3 separate regions of the Homo sapiens genome follow, and regions 2 and 3 are each linked to region 1. Evidence: promoter capture Hi-C in human tissues and cell types (Jung and others, 2019). All regions are on one chromosome and are shown on one strand. The core of a region is centred on a gene start or on the middle of the fragment in contact, and the rest is flanking DNA. Distances in the headings are between cores, read along the strand shown. Region 1 holds the start of FAU (FAU ubiquitin like and ribosomal protein S30 fusion). Region 2 overlaps DPF2 (double PHD fingers 2). Region 3 overlaps POLA2 (DNA polymerase alpha 2, accessory subunit).

The links. The method cuts DNA at HindIII sites, captures the fragments that hold promoters and counts their contacts. A contact is called where the count stands out against the background at its distance.
Region 2: a fragment that was not itself captured here is called in contact with the fragment with the promoter of FAU in region 1 in 1 of the 25 tissues and cell types used here (dorsolateral prefrontal cortex).
Region 3: a fragment that was not itself captured here is called in contact with the fragment with the promoter of FAU in region 1 in 1 of the 25 tissues and cell types used here (dorsolateral prefrontal cortex).

What each region holds. Positions count from the first base shown.
Region 1 is chr11:65,119,265-65,124,244 of GRCh38, forward strand. It overlaps FAU (FAU ubiquitin like and ribosomal protein S30 fusion), which reads right to left and starts at 2,870. Exons shown (of 5, transcript NM_001997.5): 1 at 2,826-2,870; 2 at 2,475-2,557; 3 at 2,236-2,380; 4 at 1,717-1,772; 5 at 1,366-1,542. The coding sequence starts at 2,549. The coding sequence ends at 1,417. MRPL49 (mitochondrial ribosomal protein L49) reads left to right here and starts at 3,057. Exons shown (of 4, transcript NM_004927.4): 1 at 3,057-3,160. The coding sequence starts at 3,083. RefSeq lists enhancers at 2,828-2,917, 3,078-3,347. The HindIII fragment of the contact is 8,684 bases long and covers 2,442-4,980 here.
Region 2 is chr11:65,349,000-65,352,904 of GRCh38, forward strand. It overlaps DPF2 (double PHD fingers 2), which reads left to right. Exons shown (of 11, transcript NM_006268.5): 11 at 2,684-3,905. The coding sequence ends at 2,760. Among named protein-coding and RNA genes, the nearest start is that of TIGD3, 3.8 kb to the right of the region's middle. The HindIII fragment of the contact is 5,512 bases long and covers 1-3,905 here.
Region 3 is chr11:65,289,504-65,294,483 of GRCh38, forward strand. It overlaps POLA2 (DNA polymerase alpha 2, accessory subunit), which reads left to right. Exons shown (of 18, transcript NM_002689.4): 13 at 296-369; 14 at 4,650-4,758. LOC105369344 (a long non-coding RNA gene) reads right to left here. Exons shown (of 3, transcript XR_007062727.1): 3 at 4,270-4,980. Among named protein-coding and RNA genes, the nearest start is that of CDC42EP2, 23 kb to the right of the region's middle. The HindIII fragment of the contact is 5,857 bases long and covers 166-4,980 here.

The sequences.
Region 1 (4,980 bases), core at 1,620-4,119:
AGGAGTTGGCGGCTGCAGTGAGCCATGATTGTGCAACTGCACTCCAGCCTGGATGAGAGAGACCTTGTCTCAAAAACAAAAAAGAAAAGGCCGGGCACTGTGGCTCATGGCTGTAATCCCAGTACTTTGGGAGGCCGAGGTGGGCGATCACGAGGTCAAGAGATCGAGACCATCCTGGCCAACATGGGGAAACCCCATGTCTACTAAAAATACAAAAATTAGCTGGGCGTGGTGGCACATGCCTGTAGTCCCAGCTACTCAGGGGGCTGAGGCAGGAGAATGGCGTGAACCCGGGAGGCTGAGGTTGCAGTGAGCTCGGATTGTGCCACTGCACTCCAGCCTGGCGACAGTGCGAGACTCTGTCTCAATAAAATAAAATAAAGAAAAAAGAAAAACAAAAAAAGAGGCCCTCTCTGGGATGCTATTGTATCTGTCCACATCCTCCCCCTTTCTAAACTGCTGGAAGGCAGAAACCATGTCTTTAACACCACAGAGACAAAAATAGCCAAGATTCACACACTCACTGTAAGCCAGATGTTGATTTACATCCTTTAACCCTCACAGCAGCCCTGGAGATGGCAGAGATTAAATTAGTAGTTAGTTCAAAGGCCAGCCACCCAGTAAATGGAGTAGGAAGAAAAAGAAGGTCCAAACTCAGGCAGTCAAAGTCCACAGCCCAAGGGCTTTACCCTGTTGGATGCTATTTCTCAAGAACTGGCAGGTCCAGAAACTTTAGCTGAATGAGTAAGTGGGGTTCAGAAGTGCTGGGAGGCTCAGTTGCCAGAAGAGAACCCTGAATCAGCCCCAGAGGTAACCCAACTTTTGGGAACACTGAAACCTCACTATATCCAATCACAGATGTGATTAGGTTACCAAGTCCGGCCAGGCAGTCACAGAGGTACAAACGAGGCCATGCTCCCAACATAATATTTACTTCTAAAACCAAGGCAGACCAGATTCCTGCCCTGGACTCTAAGGCCACAGCTGGTACCAAGTTCAGGGAACGGCCAGGTTCACCTTCTATACAAACCTCTTCCCCCACCCATCCCTTCTATTGCTGCCTCCATAACAAACCTCTCACCACAGTGATTCCTGCTACCTTCTCTGTTTAGAAGATGAAAAAGAATGACCTGGGGGGACTGATCAAGTTACTTAGGATAGGGAATAACCCCAATTTTACATCTGAAGCCCCCCAGGATCTGTAGCTGTTTCTTCACAGGAAATTTCTCTTGTAGTTTACCATTTCTTCCCCCCATACCAAAGGCTTCTGCCTTTTCTGCCTCACTGTTCTCCTAGGGGACATACCACCAACCCGAGAAGCACACCTCTCCCTGAGGCCTTGCAAGTAAAGATGAAACAATGCGATGACTGAACTAAGTGGCTTTTTTATTAGAGAAAGCCAGAATTACAAAAGACTTAAGAGTTGGCATTGGGGCCCTTCTTCTTGCCAAAGGTGGGCACAACGTTGACAAAGCGCCGGTTGTACTGCATCCGCCGCTTAGCCCGACCTGTCTTCTTCTTCTTCTTCTCCTGTTTGGCCACCTGGAGAAGGGAAGGTTAATCAGGCCCTGGTTCCTGTCTTCCACACCTAGCATCCCTTCCCTCAGGCTCATCTCCAGGGAGGGAGAAGGCAAACCGAGTAAGAGCCCAGGGACTTGGTTTAGCTGTGAAAGGAAAAAAAGTCCTAACACCATGACCACTAATACTCTCACTCACCTTAGGAGTCTGACCTCTCACTTTTCCAGCACGGGCCAGGGAACCATGGACTTTACCTGTAGTGGGAAAGGAAGGCACCAGCAGGTAAGAGCAAGAAGGTGCCACCCAGCAGAACCCCTCTTTTCTCAATTCAAGCCTTTAAAGAGAAGCTGCGCCCAATAGGTAATGAGAACAAAGTTGCAGATATTTGACCTTGAAATCTTAAGTTTCATTTCAGGATCTTCCAGCTTCTAATTTTATAGAGCACTTTGGGGGCCCTGGTCTGACCTAATTTTAGTGTGGAAGCTGATAACCAGACTAGGATCTCGTGATGTGACTGAAATACAACTACACTCTGGCTCAGTCTCCCATGGACGTCTGTGTTCAACATGAGGGATGTAAACAGGAAGAATCACTCTGAACTGAAGACAGTGAGAAGTACTCTATTACCATAGGTGTGACACTCAGCTGTCAGGACTATGCACCCCACACTCACTAGACGCTTACCGGTACTTCAAAGAACATTCCTCTCTCACTCACCTCCAAGCATGCGGCCTGCTACTTCCAGGGTAGTCAGGGCCTCCACCCCGCACTGGCCCAGAGTGGCCTCATCCTCCAGGGGCGCGCCTGCCAGGAGCACGACTTGATCTTCCGGGGCAATGCCCTCCAGTGAGGCTACATGAGCCTACAGGGAAAGATAAGGCTCGTAAGCGTTCCCTCGGGCCGCGAGAGTGAAGAGCACAAGAAAATGGAACCCAGGGCGCACCAAGCAGCCTTACCTTGATCTGGGCGACCGTTTCCTGGCCGGTCACCTCGAAGGTGTGTAGCTCCTGGGCGCGGACAAAGAGCTGCATATTGGCGACTGAGTAAAGAAAAGACGGCTTGTAAGAGAAGCCAAGAAATGCTCTGGGATAAAGGAGATTTGGGAGTGGAAAGCGGTCCAGAAACGATCGCGACGGGATGGTGGTCGCGGCGGCTCACGTGGGGAAGGCCAGGCCTCCCAAGGAGTTCGGATAGGGACTGGAGCAGGGCCACGGAGCAGGCCCCGTTCTTCGGTTCCCCCCGCGCCTTCTGACCCCGCAGCCAACCTGCTACAAGCCCTTCGGATCCAGCCAAGGCCCCATTCTTACCTGAACGGCGGTCCCAGCTACCGCGAAGATGGAGTCGAGAAAGAGGAAGAAGCGAGGGCGCGTCAGTACAGACCGTGGGCTGCGTGTCACGTCACTGCTGAGCGACCGCGCGGTTCCCTGCTATTTGTACCGCCCAAGGCAGTCCTAGCTCCGCCCCTTTACGCTCGCACCGGCGAACCTGCCTGGGCAGGCAGCTCGCGCAGGACGGGGCGGGACCAGACAGTTGCGCGCACAGAAGGCTGGCGTAGCAGGTAAAGATGGCAGCTACCATGTTCCGGGCTACGCTGCGGGGATGGAGAACCGGTGTCCAGCGGGGCTGCGGGCTACGGCTGTTGGTGAGAGCGCTGAGCGAGGAGCTGAGGGCATCGCGTGGGTGTGAGGCTCAGTGTTAATCATTGTTAACCCCGAAAACTAAGGCATTCCTACTTGGGGCCTTAGTTTTGCCGTTTTCGATCAGGAGAACTTGTCCCGAGTGTACATATAGAATCGAGAGGGAAAATGGTAGACTGGGGTGCTCTTTGGGAGCACTTAACACAGTGCCTGGCAGTGTCTATATAAGCCACAACGTTTCAGGTAAGGGGCGGGGTCCTAGCATATGAGTGTGCGTGGGGAATTATGATTGCCTTAATTCTTTTTTTTTTTTTTTTTGAGACGGAGTCTCGCTCTGTCGCCCAGGCTGGAGGGCAGTGGCGCGATCTCGGCCCACTGCAAGCTCCGCCTCCCAGATTCACGCCATCCTCCTGCCTCAGCCTCCCGAGTAGCTGGGACTACAGGCTCCCGCCACCATGCCCGGCTAATTTTTTGTATTTTTAGTAGAGACGGGGTTTCACCTTGTTAGCCAGGATGGACTGGATCTTCTGACCTCGTGATCCGCCCGCCTCGGCCTCCCAAAGTGCTGGGATTACAGGCATGAGCCGCCGAACCCGTCTGATTGCCTTAATTCTTAAGGCAATCATAAGATTAAACATCACTATATCCCGTCACAGATGTGATTAGGTTAGCAAGGCCAGCCAGGCAATCATGGAGGTACAAACAAGGCCACGCTGCCAATATAATAATATCTATTTCTAAAACCGAGACAGAAAGTTAAGCCTTAAGTTTCTAAAGGCTTGATTGACTTTTCAGAAGTGTACATATACTCTTTTGCATCCCACAGAAATCCTGAGAGGCAGACCATTCAGAGTACCTGAGCCTCCTTTCCATCCCATCTGTACCCTGCACCATGGAAAACCAAAGACTGGTGCTATCTTATGTCAACCTAAATAACAGACTCTAAAAGAAAAGGATATTTATTCGGGAATGGGTATAGACTATGTGCTTATCAGGGAGGTAAAAGAAGACAAAGGTTTTTAACAGAAAAATGGGCCAGGCACGGTGGCTCACGCCTGTAATCCCAGCACTTTGGGAGGCCAAGGCGCGTAGATCACCTGGAGTCAGGAGTTTGAGACAAGCCTGGCCAACATGGTGAAACCCGTCTCTAGAAAAAATACAAAAATTAGCCGGGTGTGATGGCGTGTGCCTGTAGTCCCAGCTACTTGGGAGGCTGAGGTAGGAGACTTGCTTGAACTTGGGAGGCGGAGGTTGCAGTGAGCCGAGATCACACCACTGCACTCCAGCCTAGGTGACAGAGTGAGACTCTATCTAAAAAAATAATAAAAATAAATAAAGGAAAGGAAAAATGAGTATTACATAATTGTTTTGAGACAGTTATCCTTGGCTACAAGGATGAATAACATGGGTGGTGCCAGTTCAAGATTGGACAGGCAGTTGTTGGACAGATGGCCATGCAGGAATTTGTTTTGTTTTGTTTTGTTTGAGAGAGTCTCGTCGCTCTGTCACCGAGGCTGGAGTGCAATGGTGCGATCTTAGCTCACTGCAACCTCCACCTCCTGGGTTCAAGCAATTCTCCTGCCTCAGCCTCCCAAGTAGCTGGGATTACAGGCATGCACCACCATGCCCGGCTAATTTTTGTATTTTCAGTAGAGATGGGGTTTCGCCATGTTGGCCAGGCTGGTGTTGAACTCCTGACCTTAGATGATCCTCCTGCCTCAGCCTCCAAGGTGCTGGGATTACAGGCGTGAGCCACCTTGCCCAGCCAGAAATATTTTTTTGTGTAAGGTTGAAGTGGCCTTTGTGCAAGGCTGTGGTTTTTGCA
Region 2 (3,905 bases), core at 33-2,532, 230 kb after region 1:
GTTCTTTATGTTATCACTTACATATTCTTCCAAATTAGGGAGTAAAGCACCTTGCCTTGGCTCAGTTTAGAATGCCTTCCTAACATTTCAACTTAAAGGGTTTAGTGTTTGCACATTATCAGCTACATTTACAACAGAAAATCAACAGCCCAGAAGAAAGCAGATGCTGAGCCGAGATCAGGCACCCAGAAGGAATGATTTATTTTCTTCCAACCAGTCCAGAAAACTCAAGTGGTAGATTATCTGATGTGAAACTTCTGCAGTCAACTCTTGAAATTTGATAGATTTGAGCATTTATTTCCTATCCCTTCCCCTTCTGAACTGGGAAGGGACTTGACTTTGGAGCCTGAATGGGTCAGTCTGCTTCTCCGATAACTTACTGTAATAATGGTCCAAATTTATTAAAGCTATTCACTGAAACCAGTGGTGGCACCAAGAATTGGTTGCATCTCCACAAGTCCCCTTCCAGCTGGATTTCTGTACATAAACACCTCCTGTACAGAAATTGAGTAGCAGCTGGGCGCGGTGGCTCAAGCCTGTAATCCCAGCACTTTGGGAGGCCGAGGTGGGCGGATCACGAGGTCAGGACATGGAGACCATCCTGGCTAACACGGTGAAACCCCGTCTCTACTAAAAATACAAAAAAATTAGCCGGCTGTGGTGGCGGGCGCCTGTAGTCCCAGCTACTCAGGAGGCTGAGGCAGGAGAATGGCGTGAACCCGGGAAGCGGAGCTTGCAGTGAACCGAGATCGCACCACTGCACTCCAGCCTGGGCGACAGAGCGAGACTCCATCTCAAAGAAAAAAAAAAAAAAGCCAACAGAAATTCAGTAGCTTACTCAGAACACAAATGCCCAGGAGCTGTTACTGTGCACAAAGGATGTGGGCCAGCATTACAGGCAAGAGAAAGTGTTTCATTGTGTGATGTAAGCTGACTTGTAACATATCGGTCAAACTGCTGTCACCCCTCTAGAGAATGAGGCCCCTGACAATGTCTAAGAGTCCTTTAGCAGCTGTAGGGGAGTACTCAGCTTCTGTCAGGCCCAGTTTATGAATCTGCTTTGGGGAGAAGTCGCATGTTTATGTTTTGTTTTGTTTTGTTTTTTTAAACCATCAAACAGATGATCTATGTTACAGAATGGCTTTCCTATTAAAGTTCTGTGGGACATCGAGGTAGTGGAGAGCTGCAGGCCCGAGTGTCCTCACTGTAGTGTTAAGGCAGCTGAGGGGCAACCCCTAGAAGTATCAGATGTTCTAGGTCAGGGTCAGCAAGCTACAAGCTAAAACCTATGGACCACATCCAGCCACAGCCAGCTTAAATAGCTTGCAAGCTGTTTTGTTTTCTTTTCTTTTCTCTTTTTCTTTTTCTTTCTTTCTTTTTTTTTTTTTTTTTTGAGACAGTGTCTTGTTCTGTTGCCCATGTTGGAGTGGAGTGGCATGATCTCAGCTCACTGCAACCTCTGCTTCCCCGGGCTCAGGTAATCTGGTAATCCTCCCACCTCAGCCTCCTGAGTACCTGGGACTACAGGCATGCCACCACACCCGGCTAATTTTTGTATTTTTAGTAGAGACGGGGTTTTGCCATGGTGCCCAGGCTGGTCTCGAACTCCTGGGCTCAAGTGATCCACCCACCTCAGCTTCCCAAAGTGCTGGGATTACAGGTGTGAACCACTGCATCTAGCCTGAAGAAAATCCCCTTAAAAATATAAAAACTGGCTGTGCACTGTGGCTCGCATCTGTAATCCCAGCACTTTGGGATCTCTTGAGCCCAGGGGTTCAAGACCAGCCTGGGCAGCATGGCAAAACCCCATCTTTACTAAAAATAGAGAAATTAGCTGGGCGTGGTGCTGTGCGCTTGTAATCTCAGCTACTATAGAGGCTGAGGCAAGAGAATTGCTTGAATCTGGGAGGCAGAGGTTAGAGTAAGCTGAGATCACACTGCTGTACTCCAGCCTGAGCAACAGAGCGGAAACTCTTGTCTCAGAAAAAAAAAAAATAAAGGGAGTTAAAAAAAAAATGCATGAGACTGTATGTGGCTCACACACCCTAAAATATTTAACACTCTGGCTCTTTACAGAAAACTTTGCCAACCGTATTGACCTTTGGGTTAGAAAGGACTTACATTTTTGAGTCACCTGTTTCTGAAGAGCTGATAAAAGCCCTAGAATAATGTCCAAATGCGCATAGGTATAATTTTGCTTATCATTTCAAGGCATTAAGGACTAATTTTATTCAAAAAAAATTAGAAGAATTCAGCCATAGTCAATATTAATAAACAAGGAATGACCCAATTGTTTTTCATATAAGGGACAATTATTTTGTGTTTTTTAGTGAAACTACACAAGTCTTAAAACTGAGGTGCTTGACAAACTTCTGTCTTCCCAGGCCCTCTTCCTACTCCCAAAACTTCTGATTTAATAGGGCCAAGAGGGCCTGGGCATCAGTATTCTGAAGTCCTCTAGATGATTATTTCTTTCATCTCCATAGAGGATGATATTTCATAATATTTGAAGACTTAGAGGTTTATCCCAGCTCAGGAAACCATGGAACTTTCCTGCTGCAGAGCATCCCTCGTCCTACCTGTAGCTGATCCTGCTATAGAGATGGGGTATCAAGAGCAGAGGAATTGCAAGCAGGTGGGGATTGTGTGGGACCCATCCTGACCCCATTTTGCCTCTCTGCAGGAAGTTGGAGCTGCCACCTGTGTCTGGACCTGTTGAAAGAGAAAGCTTCCATCTACCAGAACCAGAACTCCTCTTGATGTGGCCACCCACCTGCTCCCCGACATATCTAAGGCTGTTTCTCTCCTCCACTTCATATTTCATACCCATCTTTCCCTTCTTCCTCCTCTCCTTCACAAATCCAGAGAACCTTGGGGTGGTTGTGCCAGCCTGCCTTTGGCAGCTGCAAGCTGAGGTGGCAGCTCTGACCACCTCTGGCCCCAGGCCCTCAGGGAGAAAGGAGCAACACACTGCCCCTAGGCGTGCGTGTGGCCCAGTTTCTCTCTGCTCTCCATTAAGTGCATTCACTCTGCTTGCCTTGGGCCCAGCCCCTGGTGATCACAGGGTTCAAACAGTGTCCTCCTAGAAAGAGTGGGAGAGCAGCTCACTTCTCTGTGTTCTGCCTCCCCTCTGGTCTCCAGAGTTTTCCTGTCCTCTAGAGGCAAGCCAGGCCAGGGAGCTGGGAGCGAGCAAGCTGAGGCCACGTCCACAAGGAGCTTTTCATGCCCCTGTGCCGCATAGCCTCACCTCTTTCCTCCAGAGTGGCTCTCTGCGGCCCTGTGTTCCTGCTACAGAGTGTTCTTTTCTGGAGTCAGGATGTTCTCGGTCACCCTCCTGGTTCTGCCCTGTCCCATTCCACCCCACCCCAGGGGGAACAGTAGCTTCACCTTGTTATTCCCATTGCTCTCCTGGCTCACTCTTACGGTCGGTCTCCAGTGACTGAAGCATTCCCCACCCTTGGAATTTCTCATCTTCTGCCTCCCTTCCTACTCCTTTTGGTTTTGTGGGGAGAGGGGAAGGATCAGGGGGCCAGGCCAGCAGCTCGGGGGCCACAAGGAGATGGATAATGTGCCTGTTTTTTAACACAACAAAAAAGCCTACCTCCAAAATCCCCTTTTTGTTCTTCCTGGACCTGGGCATTCAGCCTCCTGCTCTTAACTGAATTGGGAGCCTCTGCCACCTGCCCCGTGTATCCTGGCTCTCAGCTCATGGGGAAGCCACATAGACATCCCTTTCTTCCCTTGCACGCTCGCTAGCAGCTGGTAAGGTCTTCACACCCTGATTCCTCAAGTTTTCTGCTTAGTGGCACTGACATTAAGTAGTGGGGGGACAGTCCATGCCAGGACACCCTGGAGTAGCCTTCCCCCTTGGCCGTGGGCAGGCCCTAACTCACTGTCGCTTTGGA
Region 3 (4,980 bases), core at 1,844-4,343, 170 kb after region 1:
TCTGGGACCTCCAATCCTTCGTCTCACGATACTTTACCTTCCATGGAAAATATTTCAAAGTACTCTTTCTTTTAGTCTCTCTCAGATTGCATTCAAGAGGGTTAATTCCCACATCTCTTCTCCTCCCTTCGACTAGACTTAGCTCCTTAAGACAAAGACCATGTCTTTTTCATCTTTGCGTCTCCTTCAGCTCCTAGCCCAACAGCTGACTTCTATGGGTCACCTAACAATGTTAAACAAGTGAATAAACACCAAACATCTGCCGTCTAAATCTGTCTCCTTTCCTTTCTTGCAGAATTGTCTACTGACAAGTCCATTTGAAGACATTTTCAAGCAGTGTCTACGAACAATTATTGAAGGCACAAGAAGGTCAGATTTCAAAATACTGGACAGAACCTTAAGCTTCTTAGGTTTCTCCAGAGCTTCCCATTAAGAAACTGAAACTGCTTAAAAGTCGTGGCAGGGCCAGGCTCAGTGGATCACACCTGTAATCCCAGCACTTTGGGAGGCCGAGGCGGGCACATCACCTGAGGTCAGGAGTTTGAGACCAGCCTGGCCAATATGGTAAAACTCTGTCTGTACTAAAAATACAGAATTAGCCAGGCGTGGCGGTGGGCACCTGTAATCCCAGCTACTTGGGAGGCTGAGGCAGGAGAATCACTTGAACCTGGGAGGCAGAGGTTGCAGTGAGCCAAGATCGTGCCGTTGCACTCCAGCCTAGGCAAAAAGAGCGCAACTCCATCTCAAAAAAAAAAAAAAAAAAAAGCTGGGCGTGGTGGCTCACGCACTTTGGGAGGCCAAAGCAGGCGGATCACCTGAGGTCAGGAGTTCAAGACCAGCCTGATCAATATGGTGAAACCCTATCTCTACTAAAATTACAAAATTAGCTGGGCGTGGTGGCACATGCCTGTAATCCCAACTACTGCGGAGGCTGAGGCAGGAGAATCTCTTGAACCCAGGAGGCAGATGTTGCAGTGAGCCGAGACCACACCATTGCACTCCAGCCTGGGCAACAAGAACAAAACTCCTTTTCCAAAAAAAAATCATGGCAGTTCCTATTCTTTCCTTCCTTTTGAACTACCGAGATCAGCTAGAACCCTTGAACTTCAAGTGCAAGTTAAGAGGCATCTCTGTAAAACACAAAGATAAACATACTTGACAAGGCTGCATCGGCTCTCACTCTTTGGTTGCTCTTTCTCTTCTATACTTAGTTCCTTTTCTCACTCCCTTTTGTATAAACTAATATTCCACGGGAATCTTCCCAGGATGGTTTTGAGAAGTGTTTGATGACTTACGCAGTGAAATCCTGTGAGACCCCAAACATCTTGTTGTGTAAGTGATTGTATTGGGTAAGCCCAAGTTCCTCCCAAGTCAGTGCTTCCCCAGGGTGCGTGGGAAGCTGCCAGTGGCTACAGCTGGTGGTGATAGAAACTCTCAGTGAGGGTGGGGCCTTGAATCCTTGCCATAGACCAAACGGAAGGAACTGTGAGAGGTTACAGCAGTGATGAGAGAGCTGTGCAGTTCTCATTTGAGAGGAAAGTCACTGTTCCAGGAAGAGGCTAAAGCCGGAAGTGGAAAGTTATTCAGAAATCTGACATCCTCCATTCCTGTCCCTTTTCCCCAGTGCCAGGGTTTGAAAGAAGTTGGTATAGGTGGTAGATCTCCTCACAAGATCTGCATGCTTGTAGCTGAGCTAATAAAATACAAATATTCCTGAGGCTAAGCATTTAAAAACGAGTCTGTCACAAAGGTGGTTTTTAAAATAAGATGTCTAACCTTCCGCCTTTTAGCCATGAGAACTGATCCCAGAATCAATAAGTTGTAACATTACCTTCTTGTACCAGCAGTGTGGGCCAGGATGGTAGATGTCACAGCTGGAATAAAGAACATCCCCCAACTCACCCCAGAATCAGAGACTTGGGTTGTGCCAGTGACAACCATGTCTGGTTCTGCCCTTTCCTCCCCTGCCTCCCTCAGATGAAGGTGATGCAGGTGCCTTCCCTCTTCCCCAGATTTGCTGTGATCCTGGTCAAGTTCATCAGGCCTGGAGAGTGGTTGGAACTCCTCAGGAGATAGACCCCCAAAACACAGGAGCAGGGCTGTGTTCTTTTGTCAGCCCTTGGGGATAGGCAGGGACTGTGTTGTAGTGCCCTAACACTGGCTGGGTGCTTTCAGTTTGAGGTCGGGTTCTGTTTTTGGTTCCTTACCCCGTGTGGTATTGACAGCAGTGATAGAAATAAAGCACAGATGAGGCATTGTCACACTGGGGATGAGAGCCCAGCACCACCAGGCACTTTCATCTATGGCCAGTGTGTGCCACAGGGCAGGGGGAGCTGCCCCACCCTTCTAGAAACAGTATATAAACAGTTCTTGGGCAGAGAATTTCTTTGTATTCCTGAGAGGTCAGAAATGCAGAGCATTAAGCTGAGTCATCATTAGTAAAAGTCAGAGCCAGGCTAAGCACGGGGCTCACGCCTATAATCCCAGCACTTTAGGAGACTGAGGCGGGCAGATCACTTGAGGTCAGGAATTCAAGACCAACCTGGCCAACACGGCGAAACCCCATCTCTACTAAAAATACAAAAATTAGCCAGATGTGGTGGTGGGTGCTTGTAGTCTCAGCTACTCGGGAGGCTGAGGCAGAATTGCTTGAACCCAGGAGGTAGAGGTTGCAATGAGCCGAGATCGCACCACTGCACTCCAGCCTGGGCGACACAGCAAGACTCCATCTCAGAAAAAGAAAAAGAGCCAGTGAGAAAGCACCTCAGAGAAAGCGAGCAGAGCCCGCGGTTCTCGTCCTGTTTGCGGGAGCAGCTGGAGGACCCTCCCGCTGTGACGTACGAGGTTGTGCAATGCTGAGCATAGTTGGGATGTTTTTCTGATCCCTCCTTCTATAGGCGCTTTCTAACCATGAGCAGGAAGGCTATTTCCTCCTTAACTATTGCCCTTCCAAAGCCTACACTGAAACAGGGCAATTTTGTCCCTTGAGAGCAGCCAGCTGCACCTCAGTCCTTTGTGTTTATCACAGATGTCAAGCCCTTGAGATGTGGAGCACAGATTGTCCCATTCAAGTTACCCTGTGGCCTGTTTACCAGACCCTGGCACCCAAATGGTGGACTGGATCACCCTAGTGAGCTTCTCAGTGTCAAAGGGACAATAATGAATATGCAAACACCTTTGGTCTCAGGATTCTGATTTTCTGTTATAGACATCTCAGTTCACACTCTGAGAGGACACCACAAACAGTGATAAGGGTGACAGCTGTCACCAGCACCTTTATCACATGTGAAAGTGTATGTATGCCTGAGAAGTCCACATGTTTTAAGCAAGAGACAGAGATGGAAGTGAGAGCTATTGGTGGATTTTAAACATGCCCGCAAAGTAATACCTTATGCCTATTTGATTTATAAACGGCCCCTCTGCCAAGGTCATCTTAAGGGAACCAAGGAAACGGGGCTTTCTTCCTCTTTTGTGTGGCTGGGAAAAATAAATAGTTGGCCCCCAGAGTTACAACTTTCTTCTTCACTTGTATGTTGTAACCCTAGAGATTCTCCTGCTCCATCAAAGGAAACATCTGCTGTCATCTGTGCTTTTACTGTTGCTGTTAAATATTTCTTTCATTTTTGCATGACAACCTGCTGAGAAATAGAAACTCAGGGCATTATTTCCATGTGTGAGAGGGGAGGGATGCGATGGCTCAGGGAGAGGCCGCTTGGGCTTTTCTGCCTCCCACTGGAAATGTCTGTGTCTCGGTTGTCCAGTAATTATGGCCCAGTGTTCAGTCAGTCAGAGGGTTTCAGCTGGATCTTCTAAATACGAAGCCAGGCCAGGTGTGGTGGCTCACACATGTAATCCCAACACTTTGGGAGGCCAAGGTCGGTGGATCACTTGAGGCCAGGAGTTTGAGACCAGCTTGGCCAACATGGTGAAACCCTATCTGTACTAAAAATACAAAAATTAGGTGGGTGTGGTGGTGTGCACCTGTAGTTGTAGCTACTCGGGAGGCTGAGACACAAGTATCACTTGAACCCAGGAGATGAGGTTGCAGTGAGCCCACATCATGCCACTGCACTCCGGCCTGGGCGACAGAGTGAGGCTCTGTCTCAAAAAAAAAAAAAAAAAAAGCAGTCTCAGGGTCTTTTTAGTATGCCTGCCTTCTCCCTAGGAAAAATGCCCCAGCTCCATGCACCCTACCAAGGTGTGGCAGGGACACTGTTTACTGCCTGCAGGCTACACCTGCTTAGAAGGTGTAATGAGTCCAAGCTGTGGTTTAAACTCTGGCTCTGAGGCTGTGATTCTTTATTCACATCCTTGTCTTTCTAGACTTTCTAGATCTCCATTTCTTTGCCCCTTTTTCTGCCAAAAAATAGTCTCCATCCTCTCAGTAGAAAGCCACACAGAGCAACAAGAAAGTGTCCCAGGCAATCGGAGCCTGTCCAGATGGATGGGTGTGAAGTAGAACAAACTGTCCTTTACTCCCAGTGTCCCATGGGAAACAGCGTCTCTGTTCATAACAGAGTGCAGTTCTGAGCTGCCTCCCTCGGGGTGGGCTCTGCCTCCAGCCTGAGGCATCCCACCTGTTGCGCAGCTGTTCTAACTCAACTGCACTCACTTTTCTCACTCTTCTGTTTGTTCTTTTGCCATACTAGCTCCGGCTCCCACCTTGTCTTTGTCCCGTCATTGAGAGATGTGCACCATGAGCCTGTGTACCCCCAGCCGCCTTTCAGCTACTCCGATCTGTCTCGAGAGGACAAAAAGGTAGCAGCACCCACTCCTTGACCAGCAGGCAGCCAGAATCCAGCATGCCTCTGCCACTAGCTCTGGCCCTGAAGGGGAGGGTGGAGAGGCCTCTTTAGGGTGTGCGTACAGCCTGAATCTTAAACTCCTTTTTTTAAACAGGCAAATGTGTCCAAAAGCTTGATGTATGTTGGTTTGGTCCCCCTTTCCGTGGTCTCCCCAGCCCTCAGACAACCCCCACTT